Regions from separate parts of the Homo sapiens genome. Here all the other regions are linked to region 3. The links are contacts of gene promoters, found by promoter capture Hi-C in blood cells and fetal thymus (Javierre and others, 2016). All regions are on one chromosome and are shown on one strand. Each heading gives the region's core, a stretch centred on a gene start or on the middle of the fragment in contact. The rest is flanking DNA. Distances are from core to core; before and after follow the strand shown. Region 1 overlaps LOC105372066 (a long non-coding RNA gene). Region 2 overlaps RPRD1A (regulation of nuclear pre-mRNA domain containing 1A). Region 3 holds the start of ZNF397 (zinc finger protein 397).

What was found. Contacts are between HindIII fragments. The CHiCAGO score rates a contact against its expected background, and 5 or more counts as called.
Region 1: a fragment that was not itself captured here is called in contact with the fragment with the promoter of ZNF397 in region 3 in 6 of 17 cell types (naive CD8 T cells, non-activated CD4 T cells, naive CD4 T cells and 3 more); the score reaches 9.5 in naive CD8 T cells.
Region 2: a fragment that was not itself captured here is called in contact with the fragment with the promoter of ZNF397 in region 3 in 3 of 17 cell types (total B cells, erythroblasts and naive CD4 T cells); the score reaches 7.3 in total B cells.

The regions. Positions count from the first base shown.
Region 1 is chr18:35,954,769-35,958,620 of GRCh38, reverse strand. All of the region lies in intron 2 of LOC105372066 (a long non-coding RNA gene), which reads left to right. Among named protein-coding and RNA genes, the nearest start is that of RMP24, 16 kb to the left of the region's middle. The HindIII fragment of the contact is 4,367 bases long and covers 1-3,835 here.
Region 2 is chr18:36,034,569-36,038,071 of GRCh38, reverse strand. The region is part of intron 1 of RPRD1A (regulation of nuclear pre-mRNA domain containing 1A); the gene reads left to right. Among named protein-coding and RNA genes, the nearest start is that of RPRD1A, 31 kb to the left of the region's middle. The HindIII fragment of the contact is 5,642 bases long and covers 1-3,503 here.
Region 3 is chr18:35,239,028-35,242,616 of GRCh38, reverse strand. ZNF397 (zinc finger protein 397) reads right to left here and starts at 1,583. Exons shown (of 4, transcript NM_001135178.3): 1 at 1,508-1,583; 2 at 1-226. The coding sequence starts at 146. RefSeq lists a silencer at 1,402-1,531 and enhancers at 1,321-1,846, 1,792-1,901. The HindIII fragment of the contact is 1,449 bases long and covers 1,001-2,449 here.

The DNA of each region.
Region 1 (3,852 bases), core at 403-2,902, 720 kb before region 3:
TGGTAAACCTTGAAGTCAGGTAATATAAGTTCCCAGCTGACTTTATTCTACTTTTTCAAGATTGTTTTAGATATTCTAGATCTTTTGCACATCCATATGTATTTTAGAATCATCTTGTCAATTTCTAAGAAAAACCTATCGACATTGAGTTGAAACTGTAGATCAGTATGGGGAGGCATCTTAACAATATTGAATCTTTCAATCTATGAAAACGATATATTTCCATTTATTTAGGTTTTGTTTAACTTATCTCAATGATATTTTGTTATTTTCAATGTACAGGGCTTGCATATCTTTTATTGAATGTATTCAAACTTTTTCTTATGTTTTTGATGGTATGATAAATGAGATTATTTTTTAAATTCCATTTTTCCAGTTTTTTCTTTCTTTTTTTGTAGATATGTCTTAGAAGTCAACACTTTTCCAGTGTTTTCTACTAGTATATAGACATACTATTGATTTTTGTACATTGAGTTAGTTAAACTGATGTATTAGTTGGTAGGAGGAACCTAGTTTAACTGCTGTATTTGATCTAGAAGGTTTTTGTTGTTGATTCTTTAGGATTTTCTATGCCAATGATCATACCATTTTCAAATAGGAATGTATTTATTGCTTCTTTTTCAACTCCTTCCTTCCTTCCTTTCTCTCTCTCTTTCTCTCTCTCTCTTCCTCCCTCCCTCTCTCTCTTTCTTCCGTTCTTTCTTTCTCTCTTTCTTTTTTTTCTTTTTCCCTCCCTCCTTTCTCTCTTTCTTTCTCTTTTTTTCTTTCTTTCTTTCTTTCTTTCTTTCTTTCTTTCTTTCTTTCTTTCTTTCTCTTTCTTTCTTTCTTCCCTCCCTCCCTTCCTTCCTTTTTCTTTTTCCCTCCCTCCCTTCCTTTGTTCTTTTCCTGCCTTCCTGCCTTCCTGCTTCTTTCTTTTTTTTTCTTTCCTTCTTTCTTTCTTTCTTTCTTTCTTTCTTTCTTTCTTTCTTTCTCTCTTTCTTTCTTTCTTCCCTCCCTCCCTTCCTTCCTTTTTCTTTTTCCCTCCCTCCCTTCCTTTGTTCTTTTCCTGCCTTCCTGCCTTCCTGCTTCTTTCTTTTTTTTTTTTCTTTCTTTCTTTCTTTCTTTCTTTCTTTCTTTCTTTCTTTCTTTCTTTCTTTCTCTTTCTTTCTTTTTCTTTTTCCTTATTGAACTATCCAGGATGTCCAGTACAGTAGAAGCTGTAAGAATAGAGAACTTTGCCTTCTTTCCAATATTAGGGGAAAATGTTTAGCAATCAGTAGGAATTATCAGTTGTAGTTTTTTCTTTGTAGGTGCCTGCAATTAAATTAAACAAGTTGTCTTTTTTTCCTAGTTTGCTGAGAGTGAAAAACATTTTTTCATCATTAATGGGTATTGAATTTTGTCCAATGCCTTTTCTGTATCAATTGATATATTATTTTTTCCCTTTATTACGTTAATATAATGGGCTACAGATGTTGGAATTATCTGACAAAGACTTAAAGCAGGTATTATACAAATGTTCCAAGAGGCAGTCATGCACATTCTTGACATGAGTGGAAAGATAGAAAGCATCAGCAAAGAAACAGAAGATATAAAAGAGAAATAAAAGGACATTTCAGACCAGAAAAATGAAATAACTGAAGTAAAAAACTTGTTGGATGGACTTAAGAGTGGAATAGAGATGACTGAGGAGTTGGCAAACTTGAGACAGGATCAATAGAAATCATCCAGTCTGAACAACAAAGAGAATAAAGTGAAAAACAATGAACATACTTTTAGGGACCTGTACGAAAATATCAAAAGGTGAATATTCATGCCATCGGAGTAACAGAAATGGAGGAGAAAGATTGTTTGTTCTCAAAAAATATTTGGAGAGGCTGGGTGCAGTGGTTCATGCCTGTAATCCCAGCATTTTGGGAGGCCAAGGTGAGTGGTCACCTGAGTTCAGGAGTTCAAGACAAGCCTGGCCAAAATGGTGAAACCCCATCTCTACTAAAAATACAAAATTATCCTGGTGTGGTAGTGCATGCCTGTAGTCCCAGCTACTTGGGAGGGTGACGCAGAATTGCTTGAACCTAGGAGGTGGAGTTTGCAGTGAGCCAAGATTGCACCAGTGCACTCCAGCCTGGGCAACAGAGCAAGACTCCATCTCAAAATAATAATATAATAATAATAATTTCCAGAGTTTGGTGAAAGACATAAACCTACAGATTCAAGAACCTTAGCGAGCCCCAAAAGGATAAACAAAAGAAATTTGTGCCCAGAAACATCATAATCCAATTACTAGAAACTACAGACAAAGAACAATTTTGAAGGCAGCCCGAGGAAGCCTATGCATTACCTGTAAGGGGGATGAAGATTTAAATGACTGTGTTTGTTATCAGAAACCATGGAGGCAAGAAAGAAGTGACACATTTTTAAAGTGCTAAAAGAAAAGAACTGTCAATGCAGAATTCTATGTCCAGTGAAAATATATTTTGTGAATGAAGATGACATGGAGACATTCTCAGATAAAAGAAAATTATTTTTGGTGAATGTGTCATGTGCAGTTAGTTGCCAGTAAACCTGTTCAATTAATAAAGGAAGTTTTTCAGATAGAAAGGAAATGATACCAGAAAGAAACTTGGAATATCAGGAATGAAGGAAGAGTAACAGATGATAAAATTCTGGTAATATAATAACTATTCTTCTCCTGAGATGTTTAAAGTATATTTGACAGTTGAAAGCACAAATTATAGCATTACCTTATAAGATTTTAATGCATATAGATGTAATATGTAGATACCATAACATAAAAGGGGAGGGTGAATGAGTTAACATAGTGGTAAGATTTCCACCTTCCAGTTGGAGTGGTAAAATATTGATTCCAGATAGATTGTGACACTGTTCTGTATACTGTAATCCCTAGAGAAGGCATTTAAAAACCTATACCAAGAGATATAGTCAAAATCACAGTAGAAAATTAAAATGAAATTAAATAAAATTAAATAAATTATATATGTATAATTTATAAATAATAAAATAAAATGAAAATGAAAATGAAATACTAAAAAATGCTCACTTAACTAAAAACAATGCTGGAAAGGGAAAATTAGGGATAAAAAGCAAAAGGAACAGACAGGAAACAAATAATAACATGATATACCTAATTCCTGTTATTGGTAAATTTTGTTTTGTATCTTTTCTTCTTGATTAGTCTTGTGTGAAACTTCAATTTTATTAATCTTTTAAAAGACTTGCTTTTTGCTTTGTTAATTTTCTCTATTGTTTTTCTATTTTCAATTTTATCAATTTCTACATGGATCTTTATTCTTTCTTTCCTTCTACTTACTTTGTGTTTAGTTTGCTCTGCTTTTCCTGGGCTCTTAAAGTGGAATTTGGCTCATTGATTTTAAGACTCTCTCCCTTTCTAATATAATTTTTAAAGCTGCACATTGACCTCTAAACACTGGTATAGTTGCAGCACCTAAACTTTAGTCTGCTACTTTTTATTATCATTCAGTTTGAAATATTTTCTAACCCAGATATCTTATTTGACCCATATATTACTTAGAAGTGTGTAGTTTAATTTCTAAATATCTGTGGCTTTTCTAGATATATTTATTGATCTCTATTTTAATTCCTTTATGGTTAAAGAACATACACTGTAAGATTTCAATCTTTTGAAGTATACTGAGAGATATTTTATGGCCAATTTTGGTCTCTTTTAGTGAACGTACCATGTGCAATTGGAAAGAATGTATATTCTGCTATCATTGGGTATAGTGTTCTATAAATGTCAATTATGTTTAGATGGCCTATAGTAGAGTTTAGCAAACTCTTCCCATGAAGGGCCAGATAATAGACAGTTCAAGCTTTGTGAGCCATATGATC
Region 2 (3,503 bases), core at 183-2,682, 800 kb before region 3:
GTATCCTCAGGCTGCAAATTTTTCGAACTTTTATGTTCCATTTCTCTTTTAAACATAAGTTCCAATTCCAAACCGTATCTTTGTGAATGCCTGGAACTGAATGCTTTTAAGAGGGCCCAAGTCACTTTAATGCTTTGCTGGCTAGAAATTTCTTCCACCAGATACCCTAAATCATCTCTTTTAACCTCAAAGTTCCACAGATCTCTAGGGCAGGGGCAAAATGCTGCCCGTCTTGTTGCTAAAGCATAGTGAGAGTCACCTTTATTCCAGTTTCCAACAGGTTCCTCATCTCCATCTGAGACCACTTCAGCCTGGACTTCATTGTCTACTTCACTATCAGCATTTTGGTCAAAGCCATTCAACAAGTCTCTAGGGAGTTCCAAACTTTCCCACATCTTTCTGTTTTCTTCAGAGCCCTCCAAACTGTTCCAACCTCTGCCTGTTACCCAGTTCCAAAGTGGCTTCCACATTTTCAGGTATCTTTACAGCAGTGCCCCACTACTTGGTACCAATTTACTGTATTAGTCTGTTCTCATGCTGTTACGAAGAAATACCTGAAACTGGGTAATTTATAAAGGAAAGAGATTTAATTGACTCACAGTTCTTCAGGGCTGGGGAGACCTCAGGAAACTTACAATCATGACAGAAGAGGAAGCAAACACGTCCTTATTCACATGGTGGCAGGAAGAAGTACAGAGTGAAGTGGGGGAAAGCTCTTTATGAAACCATCAGATCTCATGAGAACTCACTTACTAACATGAGAAAAACATGGAGGTAGCTGCCCCCATGATCAGTTATCTCCCACCTGGTTCCTCCTATGACATGGGATTATGGGAACCACAATTCAAGATTTGGGTGGGGACACAGCCAAACTGTATCACAAGTATATGTTATTTATGATTGTTTCTGTGTTGGTGTGATATATTCATGGGGAGAAGAAATAAGGAAAAAAAAAGTAACATTTTAGTGATGTGACCTATCATCTGCCAATTTGTATGGAACTTGCAAACTCCTGATTGAACAGGAAACGTTAATTTTAGTCTGTACTTAGCGTGGTCCCTGGTACATGGCAAACATTAAAATAATAAATGCTATTTAAATTGAATGGACGGTTTGGAAAACCGGTGTTTTTGGAAAGAACCCCATGAGCAACAGAAACATAGGAATTAACTAAGTCAGACCTGTCACTTAGTCTTACATTCTTTGTTGCCAACAGTGGCATTTCTTTGTGGAATTATGACATGGTTTGTTTTCCCTTTCTGTTAACTGTTTCTCTTTTAATAACAATTTATGGCTCTGTTATTTTTAAAAATATCAAAATTCATTTGGAAATTTTTTGTGTGATTTTCTTGGATTGCTTGCTGTGATTACCGCCATTAATTATTTGCTGTATGTATAGGGACACATAATTTTAAATGGAAGTAAATTTCTTTCCCTGAAAATTTAGGGAAGGGCATAAGTTGTGATGATTGCTGGGTATTTTTCATATTTTTGCTTGGTCCTACAAAGATAAAAGTGAAAATAGTATCTTGGTATTTGGACCCCATGCTCAATCACCTCATATGGAATTTGTCCTTTGGAAAACACTGGTAAATATATTTTTAAATCTTGTAAATTTTTATTTTAGTGTATATTGTAAAAGCAATTCTGAATTCTTTGAGAGATTGATATAACCCATGAATTTAAAAAACATTCTAGGGCCAGGCACAGTGGCTCACACCAGTAATCCCAGCACTTTGGGAGGCCTAGGTGGGAGGGTCACTTGAGCTCAGGAGTTCAAGACCAGCCTGGGCAACAAAGTAAGACCTTATCTCTACAAAAAATTTAAAAAATTAGCCAGGCATGGTGGCGTGTGCCTGTGGTTCCAGCTACTTGGAAGCTGAGGCAGGAGGATTGCTAGAGCCCAGGAGGTCGAGGCTGCAGTGAGCCTTTAGTCTGGGAGACAGAACTTGTCTCAAACAAAAAAAACAAAAACATTTTTTTTGTTTTTGTGGTAATAAATATTATTTACCATCTTCATTTTTTCCGTGTACAGTCCAGTAGTGTTAAGTACATTGTTGTGTAGCCAGTTTCCAGAACTGTTCATTTTGCAAAACTGAGACTCTGTACCCATGAATAATTTCCTATTCTCCTCCCATTCCCACAGCCTTTGGCAACTATCCTTCTACTCTTTTTTTCTATGAATTTGAGTACCTCCAATAAGTAGAATCATACAGTGGTTTGTCTTTTTTCATGACTCGATTATTTCACCTGGCATGATGTCCTGGAGATTCATCCATGTTGTAACATGCGTCAACATTTCCTTCTTCTATAAGGCTGAATAATACTTTATTGAATATATAATTCACATTTTGTTTATTCATTGATCAGTGGGTTAGGTTGCTCTTAACTCTTGGCTATTGTGAATAATGCTGCTAACATTGTAAAATATTTTTATTTCAGTTGCTACTTTTTGTTTTGCATTGTTTTATCTTTTTCTTCTTTTCAGTTGCTACTTTTGAGTCTCAAAGATTAACATGCCCTTTTAATTATGACAGGAAGCATGGTCTAGTTGTTAAGAGGGATTTGCTTGGCTGTTGGACTTTTTGGATTCCAATCCTGGCTTATCTCTTCCTCATTATTTCCCTGAGGGCAAATAATGTTTTTGGCTTTGTTTGTTCAGCTGCCAAATAGAGACATATTGTTAGGATTGAGATAATGTATGTAAAGTGCTTGGAATAGTGTGTAGCACATAGTAAAAGTGCAGTGAAAGGATTGTTTGTTCAGGTACCCATTCAAAAGTGATGCAGGCAATCTCCCAATTAGATAATACAAATTTGAGTTTCTAAACTCATTTGACACTGGGAAGGCAAAAATCTGGATTGAACAATACCAATCTATTTTGTGGGTGGGATTGAGAGGGCAAGGATGGGTACAAAAGAGACAGGACTGAATGTTAGGATAGGGTCCCGATATCTTAACCAGTTGTACACTGTGGTTTATCTAACCAGACAAGGAGCCTGAAAACCAGAAGCTGGTCTCTGTTATAGCCATCTCTTCTTATTTTTATTCCATGCCAGCAACTTGCAAAATCATGAAAAGTGGTAGACAGCAATTTAAACAGACAAACCAGGTTATACAGTGGCATGGCACAGGTTTGTAAAGTTTGATCAGTTGTGACTTAGTATATGAGAAGGTTGGGCTTCTGGTTGCTCCTCGAGAATGATGTGAACTCAGAGGTGACTTTTTAATATGTCAAATGCTTAAATTTGTAAATTGAATACTTAACATCTAGAGGACCACATGTAGCCTGATCAAGATTTTTGTCTTAAATCCAATAAGATAGCCCACATCAATAGGATACTGCATAATTGGTCCTGACCATAAGTTTCCTACACCACTGTACTATGGATGCCACAAGGTATGATGCTTCTGAATATAACTGTACTACATTGAGTGATTCAAATTTAATTCTAGTAAAATATAAGAATAGTATAAAATATTATGTTCAACACTGTTTTCCT
Region 3 (3,589 bases), core at 334-2,833:
AACAATTCTTGGCAGGATTGAGTACTCCCATTCTGCTTAAATTTCTCATCCCAGGAAAAGTTATCTTCTACTTTCACTAGTATTAGTTCTTGTTCCGGAGGATCCTGAGGTATCAGGGTTGAAATCACTCCAGATTCCACAGCCATTCTTGGCTGAAACAGCTTAGCAAAAAGCTCAGTACAACTGGTTCTGTGCTTGCGAAGGAGTGTGAGTAATCTCTTCTTTCCTGAAGGATATAAAAGCAGTTAACTTACAGCAATCAATAAAATCTCTAAGTACTTGTAATAAGAAAGATGAGTAACTTTAGTAATATATTGAAAGGGAGTAGATTTGGGGCTATCACTAAATAAAACAATAATGTGATGATAAACTAAAAATCATTAACCTCAATTAGTGTCTCCCATTATGAAGAATTCCTACCACTAATGTTAGAAAAAACTATTTTAGAAGCCTAAGAATGTGAATGCAACATTAACATCAATCACATAGTGAGAAAATTTCCTTTCCAATTCTTTCAATTCTGATTGTATCAAGGAGAAAAGTCTATCTTTAACATGTATGTATTAATAAAACTTGTAGAACTCTCTTTTAAATAAAATACAGGCTTCAGAATCAGACTTCCAAGAGTAAAAATATTTAGGCAGAATTTAGTAATACTGATTTTAAACATTTATTTTTACTTACTTTCTATCTAAAGCAAGTAATGTTGATTTTCATTTAAGGCAGTAATAACGTTTTTTTAAAAGTTCACATTAAACATGAGTTGATGTAAATATTGGATATTTGTCATTTGATCGCATTTGGTGTTTACCGAATTACTTCAACAAACACTGAGGCACTTACTGAGCATTAAGATTTTTGCTTATGAATAAACGAGTCTACAGAGGAATTGACCAAGAACCAAGACGTATCTGTAAAATGCTTACCATGTGTTCAAAAACATGATAGGTATCACATACACAAAAGCAGCAAAGAGATCCGTATCAGTTCTGAAAAAGCTTAGAATATCCCAAGACTAAAAATGTTCAAAAGCAAAATATGGTAACAAATAGGTATTAAATGTTGTGACACAGACCAAACTTGACCTGCTTTTAGGATGGCGAGATATCGATAGGAATGTATGCCCTTAGTTTGTCAGGACAGATGAGTAAAATTCATTCCTCACACTACGGTTAACGTTAAGAGATGAATTAAAATATTTAGCCTACAAATTTAAGGTTTAACCAGTCCGGCCGCACTAACTAACTAACTAACTAGCCCTTCTATTTTTATATCCTTGGTTAAACCGCAGCATTTACGAAGTCACGGGGTCAGCGGAACTGCGTTTTCCTTTGGAAAGCAGGAGTTTGAGTGCTGGCCTCCTCTGAGTTCCCCAGTCGCTTGGAGACGCCGCGCGGGCCAAAGGGCCGCGACCTGGGGATGGGCAGGCCGAGGAGCGGAGCTCCTCCACTGTCCGGCGCGCGCTCCCAACCCCACCTCCCTCTTCCTAGGGGCCCACGTCCCTCACCGCGAAGCCCAGGAGCGGCCAGGAAATGAGCCACCCACCCCGAGCTGCAAGCCACAAAGACCGGAAGTGCGCGTACGCAGTGTTCCGCTCTCGCGCCCTTCGGGTCCTCCGCCGCCCCGCCCCTTGCTCTGAGGTAGCCAATCAGAGCCGCGGGCTCTACAGTTTCCACCGCCTTCTCCCGGTAGCCGCTAGCCCGGCGGAATCTCCAAGGCCAGGGGAGGGTGCGCTAGGAGTCAGGGGTCCTTGTGAGCGGCGGCACCTGGAGGGTCCCGCATCTCGCCTGGGCCGTTCCCACCCTGGCTTTCTCCTGGCACCACCCATCATTGTTGGTCTCAAGTAATTCCCGAATCTCACTCCCAGTTTTCCATTAAAATATTCAGATTTTCGGCCGGGCGCGGTGGCCGAGGCGGGCGGATCACGAGGTCAGGAGATAGAGACCATCCTGGCTAACACGGTGAAACCCCGTCTCTACTAAAAATACAAAAATTTAGCTGGGCATGTTGGCGGGCGCCTGTAGTTCCAGCTACTCGGGAGGCTGAGGCAGGAGAATGGCGTGAACCCGGGAGGCGGAGCTTGCAGTGAACTGAGATGTGCTGCACTCCAGCCTGGGCGACAGAGCGAGACTCTGTCTCAAAAAAAAAAAAAAAAAAAAAACCTCAGATTTTCCTGTGATTCCAGTTCTTTTCCGACAAAAGTAAATGTAAGGATGAATAGGCTGAACAAAAACTAACAGTCACTTATATTGCTTTTGCCTATGAGTATCACTGGAGCCTTACAACAGTTCTGTGCTGTGGCTATATAATCCCAAATTTACAGCCGTAGACATCGCCCAAAGTCAGGCAACTTGTGACCAGGGACGTCCACGTCCCCATAGTTCAAGGAGACTGGTATCGTAGACTCCTGGAGCCTATCTTAGGGTCTTCCCGTTCTTCAGTGGAAGCTTGCTGGTATTGTCTCACTGTTTAAATTTTTCTTTGGCTATTTAGTCGGTGAAAAATGATGCCTCATGTTTCAACTTTGTGAGCTTAAGATAGTCCCCCTTCATGTTTACTGACCATTTATGGTTCTTCAGAGATGGCTTTTCCCATTTAAAAAATTAAGGGAGTAAGATTTTTCTTTTTTATTTGTGAGAATTTTTTGCTTATTAAGGATAGCAACTCGTTTGTTGCAAATCGTTTCCCATTTATTTGTATTTATTTTTAAAACGTTACATTTTACATGTTTAAATGTTACATATTTTTAAAATGTTATATTAAAAAAGTACACAGGATAATAACAAAGCGATACATACATACATAGAAACAAATTCTCCTTTGTGAGCCAAGACTTAAAACACATATTTGAGAAAAATGTTCGTTAGCATTCAAAGCTATTAGTGACTCACTAAATAATTTTATCATTGTGAAATGACTACAGCAATTTTACAAAGCAAAAAACCAAATAATATTAATTTGTTTATAAATTATCAATTGCTTCATAATGAACCACTTCAAGACTTAGTGACTAAAAACAGCAGATGTTTTATTGCTCACAGTTCTGTTGCCAGGAATTCAGGAAGGGCTTAGCGGAGATGGCTAGTCTGCTTTATGATGTGTCAGCTATCTTCACTTAACTGGGGTGGAAGGTCCAAGATGGCTTCACTCAAATTGCTGAAGTCTTGGTGTTGCCTCTTGGTTGAAGTTACTTGATTCTTCTCCACAAGGCCTCTCTCCATTCAGGAGTTTAGCCTAAGCTTTCTTACATGGTGACTGGCTTCCAAGAGAGTTAAGGAGGAGGAAAGATGCTAATTCTCTTAAAGCCTGAGTCTGGAACTGGCATTATATTTTTCTGCAGTATTCCATGACAGAAGGACTAGAATGGTGGAAAAGGGAAATAGACATTAAGCAGCTTGATCATAGGAGGAAATTTTGGCAGTTATCTTTGCATCCAACCTAACACACCTTGTTATATTGAGAAACCTACTATGTAAGAGTGAAACTATTGAAAGAGAGAAGGCATATCAGTTGAAATGCTTTTGGCTGCAGTAACAGGAACCTTACTAAATGTCCTTATTGTTCAAGCCTTTTAAAAACAAATCCTAAT